2 separate regions of the Homo sapiens genome follow, and region 2 is linked to region 1. Evidence: promoter capture Hi-C in human tissues and cell types (Jung and others, 2019). All regions are on one chromosome and are shown on one strand. The core of a region is centred on a gene start or on the middle of the fragment in contact, and the rest is flanking DNA. Distances in the headings are between cores, read along the strand shown.

Region 1 (7,070 bases), core at 2,569-5,068:
GGCACTGATGAGAAAGGCATAAAGGCACAGTTAATGCCAGCTCATATGATCCATCGTGGCTGTTGTCCCGCCTCATGCACAGGGGGTGTTGGGGAAGAAACAATCTCTCTGGCCCAGAGGGATACTTAGAGTGCTTCTTCTATCTCTAGGGCCTTCCATGGCCTCAGAGCACATGTGTCACACCACAGAAAGCCAACCCAGCAACTCAGAGAGAAATGGTTTTAGAAATCTAAGAAGCAAGAGAAACAAATCCTCCTGGGAAAGGAGCTCATGTGCAGTGCCTGAGTGTGGGTCTCTCTACAGTTCTCCACTTTTTTCTCTTCCACACGTCTCTGTCACTTTCACTTGTCATTTGTGTATACTTTTCCTACATCAGTTAAAAAAGGTTCCCACCACCCACCAAACCCGCTGCCAGAACACTCCTGGACAGAGAGGACACAAGCAGTCACTGCTGTTTTTTGCAAATTAGAAACTTGGCAGGTATCCTGTGAGTATCAAAGGAGATCATCCACATGACACGTCTAGCCCAATCATTGCCCTTCTTTCCCCTTGTTGCCCACTAACCTGGGCTCCTAGCCCTATCCGATCCTCGGAGACTGGGCCTTTGGTGACCCACAAACCTCACGGCCATGGAGACGAACAGTTCCTCCATAGCTCCCTATACTTCCTCACTCCTGGGCACCCAGGGCTCCTTCCCCAGTGAGCACGGCGTCTTGCACACAGCCGGCTTTCCCTTATCTGCATGGCACCTGTCACTCTGTCTACCAATTTCCAGCAGGGAATCTGATTGCCCACCAGCCACCATTCAGTCTAACAAGAACTCCTTGGCAATTAGAGGAATTTGGAACGCTCCAGCAAGCTCACTGAACTGATCTCTTTTTAAGCACCCATTGTTTTCTCTGCAGTAATTTTTTTCTTTCAGCAGCTTTTCTAGCCCCTATTTCTTAACATTTCCTAAAATGAAAATTTCATTTGTGTTTTTACTTTTGATCATTTATTAACAGTCTTTGGCTTATTCTTTAGAGGTTTTTAACCAGCTTCTTTCAGTCTTTCGGTAGTATTACCCTGCAATCTCCTTTTCTTTCCTGATACCATTTAGCTTTTCTGACTTTCAATTAAAATATCCTTGCTATCCACTGTTGATAGGTTATTTATGTAGTACTTATACCTCTATTAAAGGAGTTAAATTTTGGTTTCTGGTTTTAAAAAAGAAACAATCTCTCTACCTGAATAATACAAGTCTCTATGCCTAAGTATATCTAGAATGAATAAAAATACCAAATTTTAAAAAAGGAAAACCAGCAAGATTAGATAGCAGTATATCCTTAAAAGGTGTTTCAAGAACAAAAATCAGGTAATATTTTAAAGTTACTACTTCAAAATTCCACGAAGAAAGGGGCAATCTTCTGACATACATTATTAGGCATTCTCCCCTCTCCAAGCAGAAACTGAGACAAACTAGGAAAAATGTGATAGTGAAATAAGTGAGATGCAGCTATAAATAAAAGAAGAAATTGTTGGGTACAGACCTTAGTCTTTGCTTTCTGCATAAGCAGTAGTTTTGTGGTAGGCGTGGGTTTGGGCGTGTAGGTCTTGGGGGAAGGAGCATTGTACACATTTTACAGTGTTCCTGCCCTCCTGAGACAGCTGTGGCTCTTGCTTCCCCAGGGGTCAGGGTCCATGTTCCCACCTCATGTTGTTTATTTATTTTGAGGCCAGAGTGCAGTGGCACCATCTCAGCTCACTGCAACCTCTGCCTCCCAGGTTCAAGTGATTCTCGTGCCTCAGCCTCCCAAGTAGCTGGGATTACAGGCGTGCACCACCACGCCCGCCTAATTTTTTGCATTTTTAGTAGATACGGGGTTTCACCACGTTGGCCAGGCCGGTATCGGACTCCTGACCTCAAGTGATCTGCCTGCCTCGGCCTCTGAAAGTGCTGGGATTACAGGCGATGTTCCCACCTGATGTTCTATCATTTCAAAGAATGCACTGAATATTGGGGGACTTCAGGGACTGTCACTTTTGCTTTAAAAACTGTAAAGTGAATCTAGGAAAAGCTTTTTTTTTTTCTGGTTTCTCCACCATCAGTTTGCATGAGAAACGCCAATCATAGGACTGCTGGGAATGGCCCCTTAGCTGTGCTGTTTCTGAGCCAGGCCTACATCCTCCACTGGCTTCCTTGGGCGAATTTTAAGGCCTATGAGCACTGGAGTTGTGCATGGAGGTGGGGGCCAACAGGAAGTCCATTGTCCTAAATAGTCATTTCAGCCTAACTAACCCCATGGTGAGGCTGCTCATTAACAGGCAAGGCATCACTGTAAACCTTGCATTTGCATTTACACCTACTATTTATTAAGTGCCACAGCCATCTCTTATCATGACCGGTCACTGAGCAAACCCTACATTTCAAAAACAATCCAGTTTATAGGTCCTCTGTCTGTTTCTCCGGGCTGGAAAAGGCTTTCCATTTATCAACTTAGTTGTCCCCCCAGTCGCCTCTTGCAGGGAACAGGGCCAGATCAGATGGCGGCTGGTTCCCCTCCCCCGCCTCATACAAAAATCAGGAAAAGGAGTTGCGGGAGGAATCGAGAAGCCGGCCGCAGAGCCCAGGTCCCCCATGGCTACTGTGAGGCATTCGCCGCTGCAAATTTCCTGTCCACTGTGGGAAGCGGCACACCTCACTCATGAGCAGACGACAGGACTGGCACGTTTTAATGGAGCACACGGGCGCAGCCTAGGCGGCCTTTTGCTCCGGCTGAGAGGCACGGGCCCGGTGCCAGCATTTGACAGTCCTGGGAGGCGACGGGTAGAGGAGAGACGCGGCAGCCGCGGGGCCGGGGAGACGGTGGGAGGCCCGGCGTCCATCATCCACTTTATTACTTGATCAAACTTTAACATTTTCGGGTTTCCTAACACCTTAGCCCCAAATACTCGAAATGAAGCAAATCTTAAATTAAGGAGTCTTTCCCCACCACGCTCTGTCCTCCTCCCCACTTCACCCTCCCGCCGTTTCGCGTTATTTCCAAGGCAATTTAAAAAATCAAGCCAAACAAAGCTCCCCGGTTGCTGCCGGGCGCGCGCGGCGAACGAAGCACATTTCAGTTCAGCACCAGCCTCGGGGACAGACGCCATCAAGGAGGTGAGGAAAACCACCCTCAGCTGCGGTGGCTCCAGCGTCACCCCGAGTGCTCCCGAGGCGGCGTCTGGGCTGCTGGGGAGCCAGGAGGGCTTCCTCAGGCACTCGCCAGAAACATTTCCCCAAAGAAAACGCCCAACCAGCCACGCCATCTCCTGCCACTGAGGTCCTTTTCCACGGGGGACGTCCCCGCTGGGAAAACAGCAAACGCTCTGTGACCTACAAATGGAAGAGGGGACCCCCGAGCCCCCGCCTGCCTCATGCCGGAGGGACCGGGCGCCCCCAGCCCCGGAAGCCCCTGGACGCGCTCCGAGGGGGCTGTCCACACCCGCGCGCGGGCTTCCCCGGGGCCCGGCGGGAGGTCCCGGGAGAGGAGGCCGAGGGAACCACAGGTCTTTGTGTCGCGTGCAGCAGCAGCTGGCGGCGTGAGGACCACACCGGCGCCAGAGCCGTCTCCCTAGGTCCGGAGACTTTCACCCCGAGTTTCCCTTCCGCGTCTGGCTGCACCGGGCTGGGCTCTCCCCGCGGACACCCGGGGCTCCGGCCGGGCGCCCACTTACCCGGAGCGGGATCACGCGCGGGCTTCGTCTGCAGCGCGGTGCTCGCGGGGGGCGGCCAGGCCGAGCGGCATCGCTCCGCATCGGGGCGCGGGCCGGGCTCGGGTGCAAACGCGCGCCTCGTGCCCCTCCCGCCGCCCGCGGGGTCTCCGCGTCCCGTCACCGGCCCCGCCCCGCGCCGCGCCTCCCGCCCTGCAGGGCCCGACCACGCGGGCCTGGGGGCGCAGGCGGACCCTCCCCCGGCCCTGGACGCTGGGGGCTTCTGCTCGGCCCCCTGTGCCGTGGGGGCCCAGACTGGGGAAGGGAGAGCCGGCGACTCTGCGACCCTCGCCCCCGTTCCACGCTGGCCGCGCCCACTCCGCCGCGGGGTCTCGCCCGGGAAATCCCGCCCGCTGCCACCGACGTCACTGCTGCGTCACCGGGGCTCCCGCGCTCCCCGCCCCCGCCCCCGCCCCAGCCCGGGCCCGCGCCCCCCGCCCGCTACTCGGGCCCACGCCCCCTGTCCCAGCAAAGGGCCGCGCCCCCGCCCCGCCCCCCCGGAGCCCGCGTGGCCGGGGGACCACTGGAGGGGTCTGTGGGGCGGGGCCGGGGGGTAAATCACTGGGGGGGGGTCTGGGGGGCGCGGCGGGGGGGAGATCACTGGAGGGATCTGCGGGGCGGGGCCGGGGGGGAAATCACCGGAGGGGTCTGGGGCGGGGCCGGGGTTGCTGGAGGGGTCTGGGGACGGGGCCGCGGTCAGCGCGGGCTCCCCGAAGCCTCAGGTACCGCCCTCGCTCGGGGTGAGCTCCAGCGCCTGGGCCGTTGGGGCGCGGGCCGCTTCCCACCCTGCACCAAGGGACGCCTCGGAAGCCTCCGGCCAAGGCGGGGAACGGCGGAGAAACGCGGAATACCTGTGCGAATTCGCGCGGCCGCGTCGCCACTAACCCGGCGAAGGCTGACCCGACGTTGCTGAGTGACGGGGACCAGGGGCCGGCGAGGCCCCCACTCCGGGGGGAGCGAGGCCGGGAGGGCGGAGGGCGCGTGCTGGAGGCGGGGGTGCCCTTCGCGCCCCGGTTCTAGGAGCGACTGCTCTCCAGGCCTCGTCCCTGTGGCACCGCAGGCTTTTGCGCTGGAGATTTTAAAACACTTTAGTGATTACAGCCCTCTTCCTTTCAGGGAAAAAACAGTTTAAGCGCCGTCCATTTTCCGACTTGGTAAAATAATACGAAACCTTGGGAATAGAGAAGCAACGAAAACATTTCACGCAGTGTTGGCAAGATTTGTAGAAAAGGAGGCCAATATTAATTCCCTTTGTGAAAACAACAACATAACATCATGATGAACGATTAGGAAATATTTCGGGAAGATCTGGGCGCCTCATCCTCATCCGCCGTCCACAAGCGGTCCCTGCCACAAAGGACACAGGGCGCGCTTGTTGCTCAGATCCCTGGCCCCACTGGTTGGACCTTGCCCTACACACACGTGTACCTTCTCGGAGCCCAAGGGCCAGATTGGATGCGAACGCGGAGATCACAAAGGCCCGTAAACACGGGGCCAGCAAACACATCGGTTTTTACAAAGCTCTCAAGTGCCCATTTAAGGCACAAAATTAAACCTTGGCAAACCGACGAAGCCAGTCCATGTCCACCTCACAGACTTTTAAAAGTGAGAAAGATATATGAGTACTGCATTGAAAATTCAAGCAAATCCAAACCCTAGCTCATTGTTTTCACCCCAAAATCTTATTTCTCCTGCATTTCCTGCCCACCTCCCGCCCCCGACTGGTTGGCTAAGGCAGAATCCTAGGTTTCCTTTTATCCCAAATCCCAATCTCAATTAATCAATCACAAGGGAAATCAGTGTCTACACTTTCAAGCGCATCATTTCCTTATTTTATCTTTCTAATTGTTACACTATCATTCAAGATAGGATCATGTCAGTTTTAAACAGGAGGAAGAGGTCAGTCAACAAGTGGTTCCAGAGTGGATCCCAAGACCAGTAGAATCAGCGTGTCACCTGGGAATCTTTTAGAGATGCAGACTCCCAGGCCCCACCCAGACCTAAGGAATCAGAAACTCTGGGGGTGGGGCCCAGCAACCTGTGATTCCCCAAACCCTCCAGGTAATTCTGATTCCGTTCATCTCTGGACATCACCCAGGATAGCTGCAGTAGTGTAAAGTCTGGCACCAGGACCCTGGGTATCAGTTTTCTTTCTTCTTATTTATTTATTTTTTTTGCGGAGTGGGAGGGAGTCTCGCTCTGTCGCCCAGGCTGGAGTGCAGTGGCGCGATCTCGGCTCACTACAACCTCCTCCTCCTGGGTTCAAGCGATTCTCCTGCCTCAGCCTCCAGAGTAGCTGGGACTACAGGCGTACGCCACCATGCCCAGCTAATTTTTGTATTTTTGGTAGAGATGGGGTTTCACCGTGTTGGCCAGGATAGTCTCGATCTCTTGACCTCATGAGCTGCCCTCCTCGGCCTCCCAAGGTTTTTCTTCTTTATTCCTAGTCATATCCTTTGTTCTGAAGTCTTCTTTGTTTATATCTATATAACCACTGCAGATTTCTTACTATTAGTGTTTGCATGATATGTGTTTATATCCTTTTAATTTTTAAATCTATCTGTATCTTTTTTTTTTTTTTTTTTTTTTGAGACAGACTCTCGCTCTTGTCGCCCAGGCTGGAGTGCAATGGTGCCATCTCAGCTTACTGCAACCTCCGCCTCCCAGGTTCAAGTGATTCTCCTGCCTCAGCCTCCTGAGCAGCTGGGATTACAGGCGTCCACCACCACACCCAGCTAATTTTTGCCTTTTTAGTAGAGACCGGATTTCAACTTGTTGTCCAGGCTGGTCTCAGACTCCTGACCTCGGGTGATCCTCCCACCTCGGCCTCCCAAAGTGCTGCGATTACAGTCGTGAGTCACCACGCCCGGCCTGTATCTTTGTTCTTAAAAGTGGGATTCTCCATCTTCGTAGGCAGCACAGAGCTGGATCTGCTTTTAAAATTCAGCTTGACGATCTGTCAGCTTGACAACTAATAGTAAAAAATCCGCAGTGGTTATATAGATAAAAACAAAGAAGACTTCAGAACAAAGAATATGACTAGGGATAAAGAAGGAAAACCTTGGGAGGTCGAGGCGGGAGGATCATGAGGTCAAGAGATCGAGACTATCCTGGTCAACATGGTGAAACCCCATCTCTACTTTTAATTGGAATGTTTAGTTCATTTACTTCTTATGTAATTATCATGTGGTTGGGTTTAAAACTACCAACTTGCTATTTGTTTTCTGTTTGTCCTATTCTTCATTCCTTTTTTCCTGCCTGAGTATACTTTAGTATTCCATTTTATCTCAAGTATTGACCTTCATTTTCCTCCTCTTTCTTTGTTCTAGGGTTTATAA
Region 2 (7,070 bases), core at 1-2,500, 38 kb after region 1:
CAAGATTTTTCATGATTCTAATAAACCCTAAAGCATTTTAAGACCTAATGTAGGGAGAAGATTAAGGTATAAACATTTTAAGTTAATCTTATGCAAAGTGAATTATACTTCATAAAGGCTTTCTTCCCCTCATTGACAAAGTCCCATACTACCCACACAGAAGCCCAGAACCTACCGTGCTGCTTGTAAATCTGTTTGTGTAGGCTGTGATGACACCGCATTTGCTTCCAGTAAACAGCTGGCAACTGTCAGGCACCCAAGCACAACTAGTCACCTTTGAAAAAGGACCAATCAAAGATTATCATGTTTTAAAAGAATGAAACTTAAAGTATAATAAAAATAAAATAAAAGAATGAAAAATACTTCTACTTTTCTGACAACTATTTTTTTTAACTCTCAAAAATGTTAGGTAAACATTTCTTGAAACAGAAACGTGTCAGATATAGTAATATTCCGTAACTTTGAGCCAAATGTCTAAATGTTGTTTCCAAATTAAAATATATTATAATGCATAGTCTATGTCTATACGTGCCTGTGTGTGGATATATGTGTATATATATTTAGATAAATTTAACAAAATGATTCAGGATTGATTAAATCCAAGGTTGAGTGTGAATGTATGTGTACTTCACATATTTATTTGCTTTTTGCTTTTATTTTCCTCGTTTTATGTCTTTGGTGGGGAAACAGGTACATGTAAACAGAGGTATTGCTTCTAATAGTTCTAAAGATTGTTAAGCAGGGGAAGAAAGAAGATAAATGTGAATGTAAAAGATGGGATTATGCCTTTGGTACAAAATCCCTCAGTCCTAACCATGGAGGCACCACTCAGGTTTGAGTCAATTTTCTATGTGGCCTGACAGGTCCTCTTTTCCATGCTAGCTGACCCCCACCCTGAGCACCATGTCCGCAGCAACTGTCCCCAACTGCTCTCCTGTCCCACCTCCCCCACACTCACTTCACTAAGCAGATGGAGACCCCCAGCTGCACACCTCTTCCTCTCCTCTCCTCTGCACCTCAACATGTTTCCCTGTCTTCTGATTCAGAGAAAGAAATGTCTGCTTTCAAGGTCAGCCTTGCCTCATCCTCAGGCTTCCTCAGAAACCTTGTTTTCTTTTTCTTACAGTTTCAAGCTGTCTCTTGCTGGCTTCCCCCCTTGCACTACAAGTGTGTTCACGTCTCTGCTACCTTAGAAAATGACTTTCTCTGATCTTTATTCTTCTTAACTCCCGTTATACCATAAGGATCCATTGGATCCAATTTTATGTTTTCAGTTTCTTTCTTGAGTAGTTCTATTTGTTAGGATTGATACTTCATAAATTTTATTCTTTCTTGGAGGTCTTCCAAAGAACAAAGAGAAAATGCACTTTTAAAAAATACACAGAATAAAACTCATTCTGTCTTGGAATTACCACATGGATCCAGTGAATCAACCTAAGTTACATTACAAGATCTTAATAACTAACTTGTTTTTCTATATCCTGAAACATTTAGCGATTTCATCATTCTAAAAATTATTTCATCACTACTCATCAATTATTCCTAAATACGCAAAAAACAAACAAACAAGCAAGGAAATGGGAGAATGATGGAATCTCCCAAGAGGATAATCTAATATGTGAACTAAATCGTCATCTTTTGGTTTTCTTATTGCATTGTCCAAAGTATAGTGTCATCTTTCAGGAAAGTATAAAAGAAGGCTGGAGACACCACTTCTGTAGTCTACTTTTGGCTTTCATTGAACACGGTGGAGAATTCAGAATTTTTCATTTTCTACCAAGAAAGCTGACAGAGGAAGATGTTTCACAATTATGAGACTAATCACAACATGAAGGCACACAGCCGTCAGGACTCTAGACTCTACTGATGATGATGAAATTGATCATATAAGTGAAATCTCAGAGCGTGAGTCTTTATATAACAAAATCCTGGCTGGGCACAGTGGCTCATGCCTGTAACCCAGCACTTTGGGAGGCCGAGGCGGGCGGATCATGAGGTCAGGAGATCGAGACCATCCTGGCTAACATGGTGAAACCCCGTCTCTACTAAACATACAAAAAAATTAGCTGGGTGTGGTGGCACGCACCTGTAGTCCCAGGTACTAGGGACGGTGAGGCAGGAGAATCGCTTGAACCCAGGAGGGGGAGGTTGCAGTGAGCCGAGATCGCACCACTGCACTCCAGCCTGGCAACAGAGTGAGACTCCGTCTCAAATAATAATAATAATAATAATAATAATAATAATAATAATAATAACAACAACAACAACAACAACAATAATATCCTAGCTGAATTTTCTCAAATCAAAGAATTAATGGGTGAACAAAAATATATCTTTAGAAATGTATCTCTAGATGAAAATGCAATATAGTATTCTCATCCAGTTTAGTCATTTGACTCAAAGTATCACACAATGTCATCACATCTTGTTTTGCTAACAGGACTTGTGATAGTGTTCTTTCATCTTTATTTTCATCTATTATGATACAAATAATTTTGCAATGTTTAAATTCTTTTATATACATGAAATATTATTCAGCCTTTAAAAAGATGGAAATCCTGTTATTTGTGATAACACAAATGACCCTGGGGGACACTGTATTAAGTAAAATCTGCCAGGCACAGAAAGACAAATACTGTATGATCCTGCTCCTATGTGGAATCTAAAAAAAGCTGAACTACAGAGAGTAGAGTAGCAGTAGCCAGGGGCTGAGAGTGCTGGTAATGTGTGTGGAATGGAGAGATGGTGGTCAAAGGGTACAGGTTTCAGTTGTGCAGGATGATTACGTTCTGGAGATCTAACGTAGAGGATGGTGACTACTGTTAATAATACTGTGTTGTATTCTTGAAATTTGCTAAGATAGTAGATCTTAAATATTCTCATCACACACGTAAAAAATGCTAACTATGTGAGGTGACGAATGTGTTAATTAGCCTGACTGTAGTAATCATTTCACAATGTATATATACATGTATTAAAACATCACATTGTATACCTTAAATATATACAATTTTATTTGTCAATTTTATCCCAATAAAGCTAGAAAAAAATAAAAATAAGAATTTTAAACAACTTTATTCAAGCTTTGGATCTGCTAAACTAACAAGTCAATTTACTTGGCAAAAACAATTTGACTAAATGCTTGTCTTTGTACTGGTGAAAATAAATTAGTGAATCGGAAAGCATCTTTAAAGTTATTTGTTCATCTTTGTCCTCTCTTCACACCACATCAATCTAATGTAACAGTACCCAACTCTTAAATAGAAGGAATGCCTAGTAATTAAAGGTGTAAAGAATTTGATTGAAAGCTTATGTTATATCTTTAACATTGCGTTGAAAACATTCAATTAATACTGATGATGATTTCATTTTTCTTCACTTTTCATTGGAAAGTCAAGATGTTTGTAAATACAGATTACTGATGACAGCAATGAGTTAAATCTGCTCATAAATTTGTGTCAGTGTATTTTGACAGGTAGAATGTATTGTATATCTAACTCCCACTGTACATATTTGTCTGTTTTTCCCAATTTATAATAATCCCAAAAAGGGTGCAGTAAGGGACATACTGATTCTATAATATGTTTTTGTGTTTTCATTTATTTTGTAGACTCATTTCCAATTTAGTTATACTACAAGCTTTGCCATGATTTATGGTTATAACTTGTTTGTGTTTGGATATATATATTTCTATCTGCATACAAAGGCTCTGGTTAATGCAGCCTGATGTTTCAAAACTAAAAAAAAAATCTTATTAAAGTTCCTAGTAAAGTTGTTTTTCACTGTCTCTTTATTCTTACTTCTGTCAGTTTCCTGGTAAGCTATATAACAAATGGTGGCAATATTTTGGTCAGGGATATTGAGGGTTATGCAAACAAGGCACTGCTCCTCTTGCTTTCACTGCTAAACATTCCCCTAAGTAGCTTCCTCCATTTCTAAAGAGCTCAGGGAATGGGATACATTTTAGGACACATGATAAGGCAGCAGGTGTTATGCAGGTAATGGAAATCAGAGGATGAATGGTAAGAGAACTTCCCATGGAAAGAGAGTCAAAAAAGAAGGCTGTCCATACGATTTACAGTCTGGAACGGTTGCAGCAGCATACTGTATATTTACATGGTATTTTACAGTTTACAAGTTTCTTTTTTTTTTTTTTCCCTTGAGACAGAGTCTCGTTCTGTTGCCCAGGCTGGAGTGCAGTGGTGCAATCTTGGCTCACTGCAAGCTCCGCCTCCCGGGTTCACGCCATTCTCCTGCCTCAGCCTCCCGAGTAGCTGGGACTACAGGCGCCCGCCACCACGCCCAGCTAATTTTTTTTGTATTTTTAGTAGAGACGGGGTTTCACTGTGTTAGCCAGGATGGTCTCGATCTCCTGACCTTGTGATCCGCCCGCCTCGGCCTCCCAAAGCGCTGGGATAACAGGCTTGAGCCACCGCGCCTGGCTACAGTTTACAAGTTTCTTTCACAAACACTGGAAACATTTTACAGCAGCTTTCTGAGAAAGAAGTGTGAGTACTATTATCTTGGTTGTAATGAGGAGGAAAGAAACTCAAGTTTGGAGAGATTAAGTTACTAGTCAAAGGCTGCAGTTAGTATATAACGAAGCTGGGACACTAACAAAGATCACAGGGCTTTAGGCCCAATGTTCTTTCTACTATACATGATGTCTGAATAACCAGTCCATTTAGGAAAAATCAGGTATAAAAGATGGCACTATGGTTACAGAAAATGACCTAATGACAAAGGTGAGTGAACACTGAGAAGAAGGCAATGCTGATTTGGTTCAAACACTATGCCCTTCACTGATGTTGAGCAGGAGATTTTGATAATATTCTCTCAATGAGAAAATGGGTAGAAAACAAATTTGGGGGACACAAATAGTGGTAGTTAGGAAGTCTGTAAGTACTATAAACATCAGATTCTCTCTTTTTTTTTTTTTTGAGATGGAGTTTTGCTCTGGTTGCTGATGCTGGAGCGCAATGGCACGATCTCAGCTCACTGCAACCTCTGCCTCCCAGGTTCAAGTGATTCTCCTGCCTCAGCCTCCCGAGTAGCTGGGATTTACAGGTGCCCACCACCATGCGTGGCTAATTTTTGCATTTTTCATAGAGGCAGGGTTTCACCATGTTGGCCAGGCTGGTCTCGAACTCCTGACCTCAGGTGATCCCCGCACCTTGGCCTCCCAAAGTGCTAGGATTACAGGCGTGAGCCACCATGCCCAGCCTAACATCAGATTCTTGACTGGACAAATTGCAGGATATTAAAAACTGGCTGCTTGGCTGGGCACAGTGGCTCACGCATGTAATCCCAGCACTTTGGGAGGCTGAGGCGGGAGAATCACCTGAGGTCAGGAGTTCGAGACCAACCTGGCTAACATGGTGAAACCCCGTCCCTACTAAAAATACAAAAATTAGCCAAGTGTGGTGGCACATGCCTGTAGTCCCAGCTACTTCGGAAGCTGAGGCAGGAGAATTGCTTGAATCCGGGAGGCGGAGGTTGCAGTGGGCACAGATCACACCACTGTACTCCAGCCTGGGCGATGGAGCGAGACTTCATCTCATAACAAACCAACCAACCAACCAACCAACCAACCTAGCTGCTATCAGTCTGACTCTTTTTTTTTTAAGATGGAGTCTCGCTCTTGTCACCCAGGCTGGAATGCAATGGCGTGATCTTGGCTCACTGCAACCTCTGCCTCCTGGGTTCAAGCGATTCTCCTGCCTCAGCCTCCTGAGTAGCTGGAATTACAGGAATGTGCCACCATGCCTGGCTAATTTTTTTTGTATTTTTAGTAGAGATGGGTTTTCCCCGTGTTGGCCAGGCTGGTCTTGAACTCCTGACCTCAGGCGATCTGCCCGCCTCAGCCTCCCAAAGTGCTGGGATTACAGGCATGAGCCACTGTGCCCAGCCAGTCTGACTCATTTTTATGCATTAACCATTATAAAGATACCACAAAAACGTTTACATGGGCCAGACACAGTGGCTCACTGTAATCCCAGCACTCTGGGAGGCCAAGGCGGGTGAATCATTTGAGTCCAGGAGTTTGAGGCCAGCCTGGGCAACATGGAGAAACCCTATCTCCACAGATAATATAAAAATTATCCAGGCATGGTGGCACGCACCTGTAGTCCCAGCTACTTGGGAAGCTGAGGGAGGAGGATCACTTGAGTCTGGGAGGTGGAGGGTGCAGTTAGCTGAGAGTGTGCTTTTGCACTCCAGCCTGGGCAACAGAGCGACACTCTAAAATTAAAAAAAAAGTTGGCCAGGTGTGGTGGCTCACACCTGTAATCCCAGCACTTTGGGAGGCCAAGGCGGGCAGATAACAAGGTCAGGAGATCGAGACCATCCTTGCTAACACGATGAAATCCCGTCTCTACTAAAAGAATACAAAAAGTCAGCTGGGCGTGGTGGCAGGTGCCTGTAGTCCCAGCTACTTGGGAGGCTGAGGCAGGAGAATGGCGTGAGCCGGGAGGTGGAGCTTGCAGTGAGCCAAGATGTGTCACTGCGCTCCAGCTTGGGCGGCAGAGTGAGACTCCGTCTTAAAAATAAATAAATAAAATAAAATAAAGTGTTTACCTGGTACTGTTGTGAACTTTGAATAAAGTTTACTGGAGGCTCACTTTGTTTACTCTTCAACCTTAAAATATTATCAGCATATCCCCAGCTCAGGATGGCTGACCACTGAATGTCCGTACTGTTCATGCTTCTCACACCTCAAGGAGAAGGAGAAAGAAAAGTATCAGATTGTCACTGCTCGACTGTTACATGACAGCCCAAAACTGGCAGATTAAAGGGTGAAGTTTACATAGCAGAACATATCATTTGGTGCAAGACCATCTTTAAATCTCTAAAATGGAACAATTTTTTAGTTTTATTCCTTTAATGCTAACAGGGTTCTCAGGGTGGGATTATATTTTTTCACTTGTGTTGTTTTGACTGGGATTTGTTTGACTCAGAACTAAAATTTCTGTTAAGAAATTATTATAAAAGACAGTAATAGTGAAGCTTACTCTATTCATGTTCTGAGACACCTTTTCTTTTAAAAATAAATATGAACTAGATACTATTTA

What was found. Contacts are between HindIII fragments. The study calls those that stand out against the background at their distance.
Region 2: a contact is called between a fragment that was not itself captured here and the fragment with the promoter of GNG4 in region 1, in 1 of the 25 tissues and cell types used here (IMR-90 fibroblasts).

What each region holds. Positions count from the first base shown.
Region 1 is chr1:235,645,966-235,653,035 of GRCh38, forward strand. GNG4 (G protein subunit gamma 4) reads right to left here and starts at 3,819. Exons shown (of 4, transcript NM_001098722.2): 1 at 3,697-3,819. RefSeq lists enhancers at 2,024-2,318, 4,784-5,635 and a silencer at 3,684-3,793. The HindIII fragment of the contact is 19,046 bases long and covers 1-7,070 here.
Region 2 is chr1:235,686,774-235,693,843 of GRCh38, forward strand. It overlaps LYST (lysosomal trafficking regulator), which reads right to left. Exons shown (of 53, transcript NM_000081.4): 47 at 6,577-6,713; 48 at 176-274. Among named protein-coding and RNA genes, the nearest start is that of GNG4, 41 kb to the left of the region's middle. The HindIII fragment of the contact is 3,890 bases long and covers 1-3,195 here.